Regions from separate parts of the Homo sapiens genome. Here region 2 is linked to region 1. The links are contacts of gene promoters, found by promoter capture Hi-C in human tissues and cell types (Jung and others, 2019). All regions are on one chromosome and are shown on one strand. Each heading gives the region's core, a stretch centred on a gene start or on the middle of the fragment in contact. The rest is flanking DNA. Distances are from core to core; before and after follow the strand shown. Region 1 holds the start of OC90 (otoconin 90). Region 2 overlaps HHLA1 (HHLA1 neighbor of OC90).

Region 1 (3,731 bases), core at 632-3,131:
GATTGGGTGTTCTTCGATAATGGGGAGAGTTTCAGTAGGGGAAGATGAAAAAGTCCTGGAGGTGGACAGTGGCGTGATTGCATATCAATGTGAATGCACTTAATGCTCCTCAGCTGTACACTTAAAAGTGGCTGACATGGTCAATATTATGTATATTTTACCACAACTTTTTAAAAAGTAAGTAATAATCTTCATGACCTTATTCCTTTAAACACAACATTTCATGGATTAGGTCATTCTTTGTGTCAGGTGTTCCACTGAGCATGCCCCACTTGCTGTCTGGTGACAACCCTCCAAGACTTTGGCTATCAAGACGTCTCACTTTCTAGACCAGGAAACTGGGCTCAGAGGGTGAGTCACTTGCCAGGGTGGCCCTTGCCCAGAAGGGGGCGCTCTGGCAATGACCAGACCCAGGTGGGCCAGTCTGACTTGTTCTGGCTCCAATACCCTAAACTGCTAGGCCGGTCCTTTGAGACAAACTAAGCATTCCAGTGATGACTCACTGCGTAACTGTCACAATTATCGGTAGTACTTGCTTGGGAAGACCCTTAGGGTGGCCAGCTTCTTGCTAGGGTGTGGTGAAACACAGCAGGTGACAGCTTCCTTGCTGCGCACAAAGAAGGAAAGTCAGTGCCAGCTAGAAGGTGCCAGTTAGAAGCACGTGGTCAGCCCTGGGCAACAGTGAGGATGACCCGAATCTGGGGTACGTGCACATTAGGGTACGTGGGTGGGATGGTGTGGGGCTGCTTCTGAAATCCAGTATCCTCCTGTTGGCCAAGTCAGGCGCCCTTGGCTGTGGGGCTGTGTCTACCTGGAGGAAAGACCTCCTTCTCCTAATTTGCCCAAGGAAGTCTCTGGGGCTGTCGTGGCCTCATGGGTCAGTGCTGTCCTTGTGGGCCTGAGAAGGCTCCCGAAGCCTCGCCTTGGTCTGCATGCCAGGTTTGGAGTCCCGGCTCCCCTAGCTGTCTCCCAATGGCCGGTCTCATGGCTGCATAGCCAGTGTCTGAGCCCAAGGCCTTGCTGGTCGGACAGACCTGGGCTGGGGTCAGGGAGTTCAGGCTCTGCCTTTTGCTTGTCGAGTGCCCTGAGCCAGGCACTGAAGATGCCTGGAACTCATTTTCCTGGGCAGCGAAATGCATATAATGGTGTTTTTTCATCAGGGAATCATGAGGGTTAAATCTGATGAGTCTTATAAAGGTAGAACACCATCTCCGGCACTTGCTCAGTGCTCAGTGAGGACTGCCCATAATTAATGCTGATTGTGTTTCCACACCAGGTGCCGTGGGCGGGGTCATTGCCCAGGGCTATGTAGGATCCTCACTAATGTGAAGTGGTGGATTTTTCCCCCGGGTAAATTTGCCAGGTGCTCTCTGTCTGGCATTGCATCTTTTCACAGATCGACTCAGAGCAATTTGGGTTTTCAGCTATATCCTGGAGCAACATCCAGGTCTCAGACAGCCCTGAGAGCATCCCCTACCACCTTATCCTCCATTCATTTATCTCCTCATTTCCCCTCCATTCTTCTCTCCCTTCCTCCCTCTTTCCCTCTCTCCCTCCCTCCCTTCTACCCTCTCTTTCTCCCTCCTTTTCTTCCTTCATCAATTTCTCCTACTTTTCTTCCCTCCCCTCCTTCCTCCTACCCTTTCTGCCTCTTTCCATCTCCCAACCATTTCCCTCCCTCCCTCACTCTTTTCCTCCATCCCTCCCTCTCCCCCTCCTTCTCTTTCTCCCTCCCTTCTTCTCTTCTCCCATTCATTTCCCTCCTTTACTTGCTGTCTTCCTCCCTCCCTCCCTCCCCTGCTCTCTGTCTCCCCAACCATCAGGAATAACAGATGCCTACCGTGAAGGCTCCACTGGAGTGCAGCTGGATGAATGATGCTAGGGTTTGAACAGGTGCAGACTGAGTCCTTTATACCCCAAGGAAAGACCCTTAGCCATGTGATGCCTCTCCCCACTCCTCACATCAAGAAGGAAGCCTTTCATGAATGTTGGCAGGTGGGCTGCCTCTGAAGGGAGGAGGCATCATAATACTATAGCTTGGAACAGGTGAAGGCTCCATATTAAGAAGCCCCATCTTGAGCCTCAGAGGAGACCTCAGGCTCTAATTAGAGAACAATGGGTTCCCTGTTCTACCCCACCTCACCTCAAAGGCTAGGAGGCCCATGGATTATGTCTCAGGGTCATCATGGGAACTCTCGGGGGATGAAAGACTGATGAAAGTCATGTGGGCTCTCCTGCAAGATAAAGGGCTGGCTTTGTCTGGTCTAGTTCATTCTTTAGCAAGAGGATTTCTAGCGTGATTCTTCTTATATGTTCTTGGCCTCAGATCTCGGAATTTGATGCCTCTTTCCTTTAGGGCTTTTCTGCCCAAGCTGTGGGGTAGGGTGAGGTGGGGCTTTATAATCAGACACCCAAGGTTCCTCTGCCAGCCCTGCTACTGAGTAGCAGTGTGACCTTGAGTTTGTCACTGCTCAGCTTTAGCTTCCACATCTGTTAAATGGGCTTAATCCTACTAAGATTTCGAGGCTGAAGAAAGCCATATATAGTGTGTGGTATGGGGGCTCATTAAGTCCTAGTTCTTTTTGTCACTTCCTCATATCGCCTTGTGAAGGGTTTTCTTTCCTGATTTTGAAAGGAGAACTGGCATTTATTGAGTACGTGTAATGTACCACAAGTGTTTTATAGGATTTTGCCCTCATCATCCCTGCAGCAGCCCTTCCATTACTGCTTTCATAATCCTAGGAGCAAGGATTAATTAGCTCCACTTTACAGATGAGAAAAAATGGTGTCGTTGAGGTTGAGGCATTGTAGAAGCTCACGTGTAATGGAAGCATTCTGGAATGCAGGTTAGCCTGGCTGTGAACCCTCTGAGTTGCTCACTCTATGGCCACCTCCTGAAGAAGCAGGACTCCTCAAACGATTAAATCAGGGCACAATTGAGCCTCTATGGAAGAACCCATTGAAGGGCTTCTTCAAATAAGTAATTACTCTCATTCATTGAGGCTTGTGTTTGTAGATCATTAACTATTGTTCAGCATCTCATGTGATTTGAGGAATGAAGATGCATTGTCTGTAATATTTTCTCATTAGCACCAAAGACCCACCATCTCTAAAATGACTAAGCCCGTGGGCATCTATGGCTCAGTGCAGCAAAATCCATCTTTTCAGCATCTCAAGAGCATAGCTGAGATTGTTATTATGCTCAAGAGCATAACTGAGATTGTTATTATGCCTGAGCAATACAAAGGCATAACAATCTACATAGGTATCTTGTTCGAGACATTTCATGGGGTTTTGAGAAGGATCATTTTTTCCCATAGCTTACAACAGAGTATCTTAATCTTAGCACTGTTGACATTTGGGCCAAATTATTCTTTTTTTGTAGGAGTTGTCCCGAGCATTGCAATATCGCAGGTCTCTACTCAGCTGATGCCAGTAGCACTCCCTACCTTGTTGTGACAACCAAAAATGTCTCCAAACATTGCCAAGTGTCCCCTGGGGGCCAAATCACCCCTGATTGAAAACCACTGGCCTTCAATATCCCTGGAACCTTGGCCTTTTACCATTCTGTTGGTGGAATAAAGTGAGAGTGAAGTTTTCACAAGAACCCAGACATAAGAGGATAAAGTCTGTTCTAAATGAGAGTTTAAAATTTTAGATTTAATTATGACAGCACCTAAATGTCTCGTTCACACAAACCCACAGCACTAGTGCACCTGTGCAGAAATAGG
Region 2 (4,188 bases), core at 636-3,135, 35 kb after region 1:
TACATGCCCAGACTATCAGACATGAAAGCAATTAACTTCTACCTTCTTTAAACTAGGCTATTTTGGAGTCATTTGTTATAGTAGCCCACCCTGTATTCTAAATAATGCAGAGAATGGGTTCCTATATGTAGAGCAGGATGTCTACACTGATGGGTAGATATTAGCTGGGGTACATAGGTAGATAGGTAGGTTAGATAAGTAGCTTAGATGACAGGTTGGATAGATAAGTGGGTTATATAGGTAGTGTAGACAGCCTTGGATAGCATTTATTAGCATGTTAATAGTGACTACCAGTGGATGGTGGGATATCAGCTATTTCTGGTTTCTTAGTTTTCCTGTCCATGTTGCATAGCATCTTGATATCACAGTACATTATTTTTAAAATTAAGAAAACTTAAGCCAGTTTCATTTAGGAAGAAAAAAAAGGGAAAATATGCAAATATACCCTCAAAGGAGGGCTTTAGATCAGAGTTGAAAACATTAAAAAGAAAATGATCCAGATCTAAAGATCATCCACAAAGTCACCTTCCCCGAAGGTGTTGAGCAACGGCAAGTTGTTGGCCTACGTGTACAGCCTCTCATGGTAGCGCTGTGACTTCTTGTCAAACCTGGCAAAAGTTGCTATGACCTACCAGAGGAACACCAGGCAATTTTATCAGTAGATAATGATCCATGGATCATTCTTTTCATATAATTGTTGCAAGTGTGTGAAAATATGATTTGACTCATGAAATAAAATTATAAACTTTCTCCAGGCAGATTTAACTTTTTAAATCTTATTTTTATCTTTCACACAATCAGGATAGGGACTCACCCAGCACAGACTTCTATCCTCAGCAGGGGTTAATGAAATGGTGAGAAAGGCATGATTATGAAGAATTTTTTTCCTCACAAATGTATTTGTTGAAGAGATTCACAGGGTAAATTACATAAGATAATAGACATTAAGCACTCATTGTAGCATCTCGCATATAGTACTTATTATATATTAGTAATTCTTTCCTTTAATATTTTCACAATATTTGTTTTAGAAATTCTACTCAGTGGGGGAAATAATCTGAAACAGGGAAGAGTTTACGCACAAAGATGTCCAAGGCAAAATTATTTATATTAAGAAAAACCTAGATCCACTCAAAAGTCTAAGAACAGCATAGTGGCTAAGAGAATGCTTGCATTCACTGGTTACATAGTCATTACAAGTGTTTAAGAAGAGTTTGTAATATGGTGGAAGGGTTAATATTAGACTAAGTGGGGAAAAGTACAAGAGGCTTTGGTTGCCTTTAGTGCTTGCTTCCCTTACAATCTCGTATTTAACAAGCAGCCAGAAGGATTCTTTTAAAATGTCAGATCATGTCCCTTCCCTGTGCAGACAATCACAATGGCTTCCTTCTTATTCCGGGTGAAAATTAGAATCCTCGCAGCAGACCTTAAACTTCTATATGATCTGCAACACCCTCCCCACTTTGCCCTCACCAATCAGAGCTAATTTCCTATAGCTCTGTCCTGGCTAACCTGCTCCAGTTATGCTGGCTTCTCTGGTCCTCATGCTGCTGCTTAGGCCTTTGTCTGGACCACTGTCCCCAGGAACAACCACAGGGCTGGCCCCTCACATCCTGAAGGTCACCCCTCAACCCTCACTTCATTTGGAGAAGACTTTCCTGACCACCCTACACACAGCAATATCCCCCACTGTGACTTTTCCCTCCGGCTTTCCCCTGCTTCATGGTTCCCATGGTCAGGCTGTCAGCCCACACACCATGTACTTGCAGTACATTTATTTACTCCCTGCTCCCCGCTAGGAATCTATGTCCCACGGGAGCAGGAGGTGTGTTCACTTTGCTCTGTGTGCTTTCCCCACACCTAGAAGAGTGCATGGGTCATAGTGCACGCTCAGATGGAATTACTGAATGGGTGAATTAACGGTGCAAAAATTGTCACTTTTATTTTTCAGTATTCTCTAAAATAGGGAACACATAATACTTTAAAGTTTTATTTATAAAACTAGCATATGAACATACTCTCCTTGGGAAAAAAAAGTTCAGATAATCTAAGGCTCTTTTAACCAACATTCTTCCACTCCAAAACACATACTCCAATCTTCTTTTCAAAGGGAATCACCTATCTGGTGCCCACATATGTGTTCTTATCAATAACATTGTGCTCTTTGTATTTTTGTGTAACTTTCTTTTTCTAATTAAAAATCTCTTGGAAGCTTTTCCATGCACAGGCCAAATTTGAGCACTCTCACTCATTTATGTATTATCTGTGGCTGTTTTTGAAAGTTTAATTATGTGGGAGACTACTTAACCATTTTCCCTCATGATGGATATTTAGGTTGTTCCTCACTTTTGCAATTAAAACAATGCTTCATGAACATTTTCCTCCTGTTGCTTTTGCACACACAACTGTTTTTCACTGGGATAATGAATGAGCACATGGTTAAGGGTAGTGGATAGGACCATATTTTCCTGTCTTACATTGAGGAAAAACAAAAACTTATCTAAAAGGACACAAGCAAAATTGGAAAAGCTGCAAGCCTCATGGTAAGCTGTACCCACCTGATAAGTCATTGGTCCGATTGTTTAAACAGTAGCAATACCTTGTGGGGAATTTGGCGGGGTCTACTGTCTTCAGGTTAGAAACTGTGAAGAGAAAGGATTCAACAGAGATCCTAACACACAGACCAGCCCTGCAACACATCCCTACCACCACCACCATCAAGAAGAGCCAGCCAGCACTCACTGTTGTAAACAGCTACAGAAAACTTGTGGAAGGCGAAGGAACTGTAGGAAGTGACACTCAGCAAGGAGAAGAACTTCTTGCTATCTGCCAAAACATACCAGATAAAGAGACAGACAGATGCCTACTAACGTAACAATAATACAAATAAGTAAACAGTCCCTAGAAATTAACAATGCCAATAAAGAAACCAATGATGAAAATAAAGAAACAAACAAAAAAGTAATACAAATAAAAAATAATAAACAAAGTAAAACTAAACCAAAAAGCTGAAGAGTATGTATCATTTGTCTATATTTCCTGATCCATCCTCAAGCTGTGGCAACTCTCTAAGAAAGATTCCCAAGGCATATTAGGCCCCTGAGGCTGCTGTAACAAATTATCACAAACTTGGTGGCCTAAAACAGCAGAAATTTGTTCTCTCACAGTTCTGGGGGCTAGAAGTCTGAAACTCAGTAGGGCACCCTCCCTTCAAGGGCTCTAAAGGAGAATCTGTTCTTGCCTCTCTCAGCTCTGGCGGCTGCCTGTGTCCCTTGGCTTGTGGCCACATCTCTCTCTGTTCTATCATCACATGGTCTTTTCTTCTGTGTGTGTCTCCTTTGCCTCTTTCTTGTAAGGACCCTTGTGGTGGCATCCGGCACAACACAAATAATCCTGGACAATGGCCTCATCTCAAAATCTTTAACTCAATCAATCTGTTATCACATCAGGTGATATTCACTCTTTTGACATATAAAGTAGTATTCACAGATTCTGGTAATTACAAAGTGGATATCTTTGGCCATTTTCAGTCTACTACACAAAGAAAGGGGATTTTTTTTTAAACCAGGAATACTAACATAAACAATCAGGTTTAGGAATACATGCATGAGCATCTTATCTACTCTCCATCAGTGCCTGTTCTTAGTTTATATCTGGAGCACAGTGCAGCAGAGGGAGATCTTTCCAGACCTGGTCTGAGAATCACCCACCTGCATCAACACACCTTTAATAGGTGCACCTATTAAAAGGGCACATTCCTGGATGTGATCCCAGGTCTACTAAATCAGATGGTGAAGAAAGGGGAAAGGTGGGTATGCCCAGGGTTCTGAATTTTAACAAAGTTCTCAGGTGAATTTTTTTCTTTTTTAGACAGGGTCTTGCTCTGTCACTCAGGCTGGAATGCAATCGTGCAGTCACAGCTCACTGCGGCCTCCACCTCTCAGGCTCCAGTAATCCTCCCACCTCAGCCTCCCAAAGCGCTGGGATTATAGGCATGACCCACTGTGCCCGGTCTCAGGTGATTTTTATTCATATAAATTTGTTACCCACTGTGATGGTGGATGGAATGGCAGAATCATTAAACTTTGGTGCACGCAAATCACCAGTGGTGCCCATTCCCCCTCGGCTCTCTGGCTATTGCCCTCTGGAGACCCCAATGCCATACACTGAGCGGGAACCAGACTCTGT

What was found. Contacts are between HindIII fragments. The study calls those that stand out against the background at their distance.
Region 2: a fragment that was not itself captured here is called in contact with the fragment with the promoter of OC90 in region 1 in 2 of the 25 tissues and cell types used here (hippocampus and pancreas).

What each region holds. Positions count from the first base shown.
Region 1 is chr8:132,057,501-132,061,231 of GRCh38, forward strand. It overlaps OC90 (otoconin 90), which reads right to left and starts at 1,882. Exons shown (of 14, transcript NM_001080399.3): 1 at 1,841-1,882. RefSeq lists enhancers at 375-952, 953-1,529. The HindIII fragment of the contact is 9,699 bases long and covers 1-3,731 here.
Region 2 is chr8:132,092,961-132,097,148 of GRCh38, forward strand. HHLA1 (HHLA1 neighbor of OC90) reads right to left here. Exons shown (of 17, transcript NM_001145095.3): 6 at 2,743-2,826; 7 at 2,559-2,642. Among named protein-coding and RNA genes, the nearest start is that of HHLA1, 16 kb to the right of the region's middle. The HindIII fragment of the contact is 7,831 bases long and covers 1-4,188 here.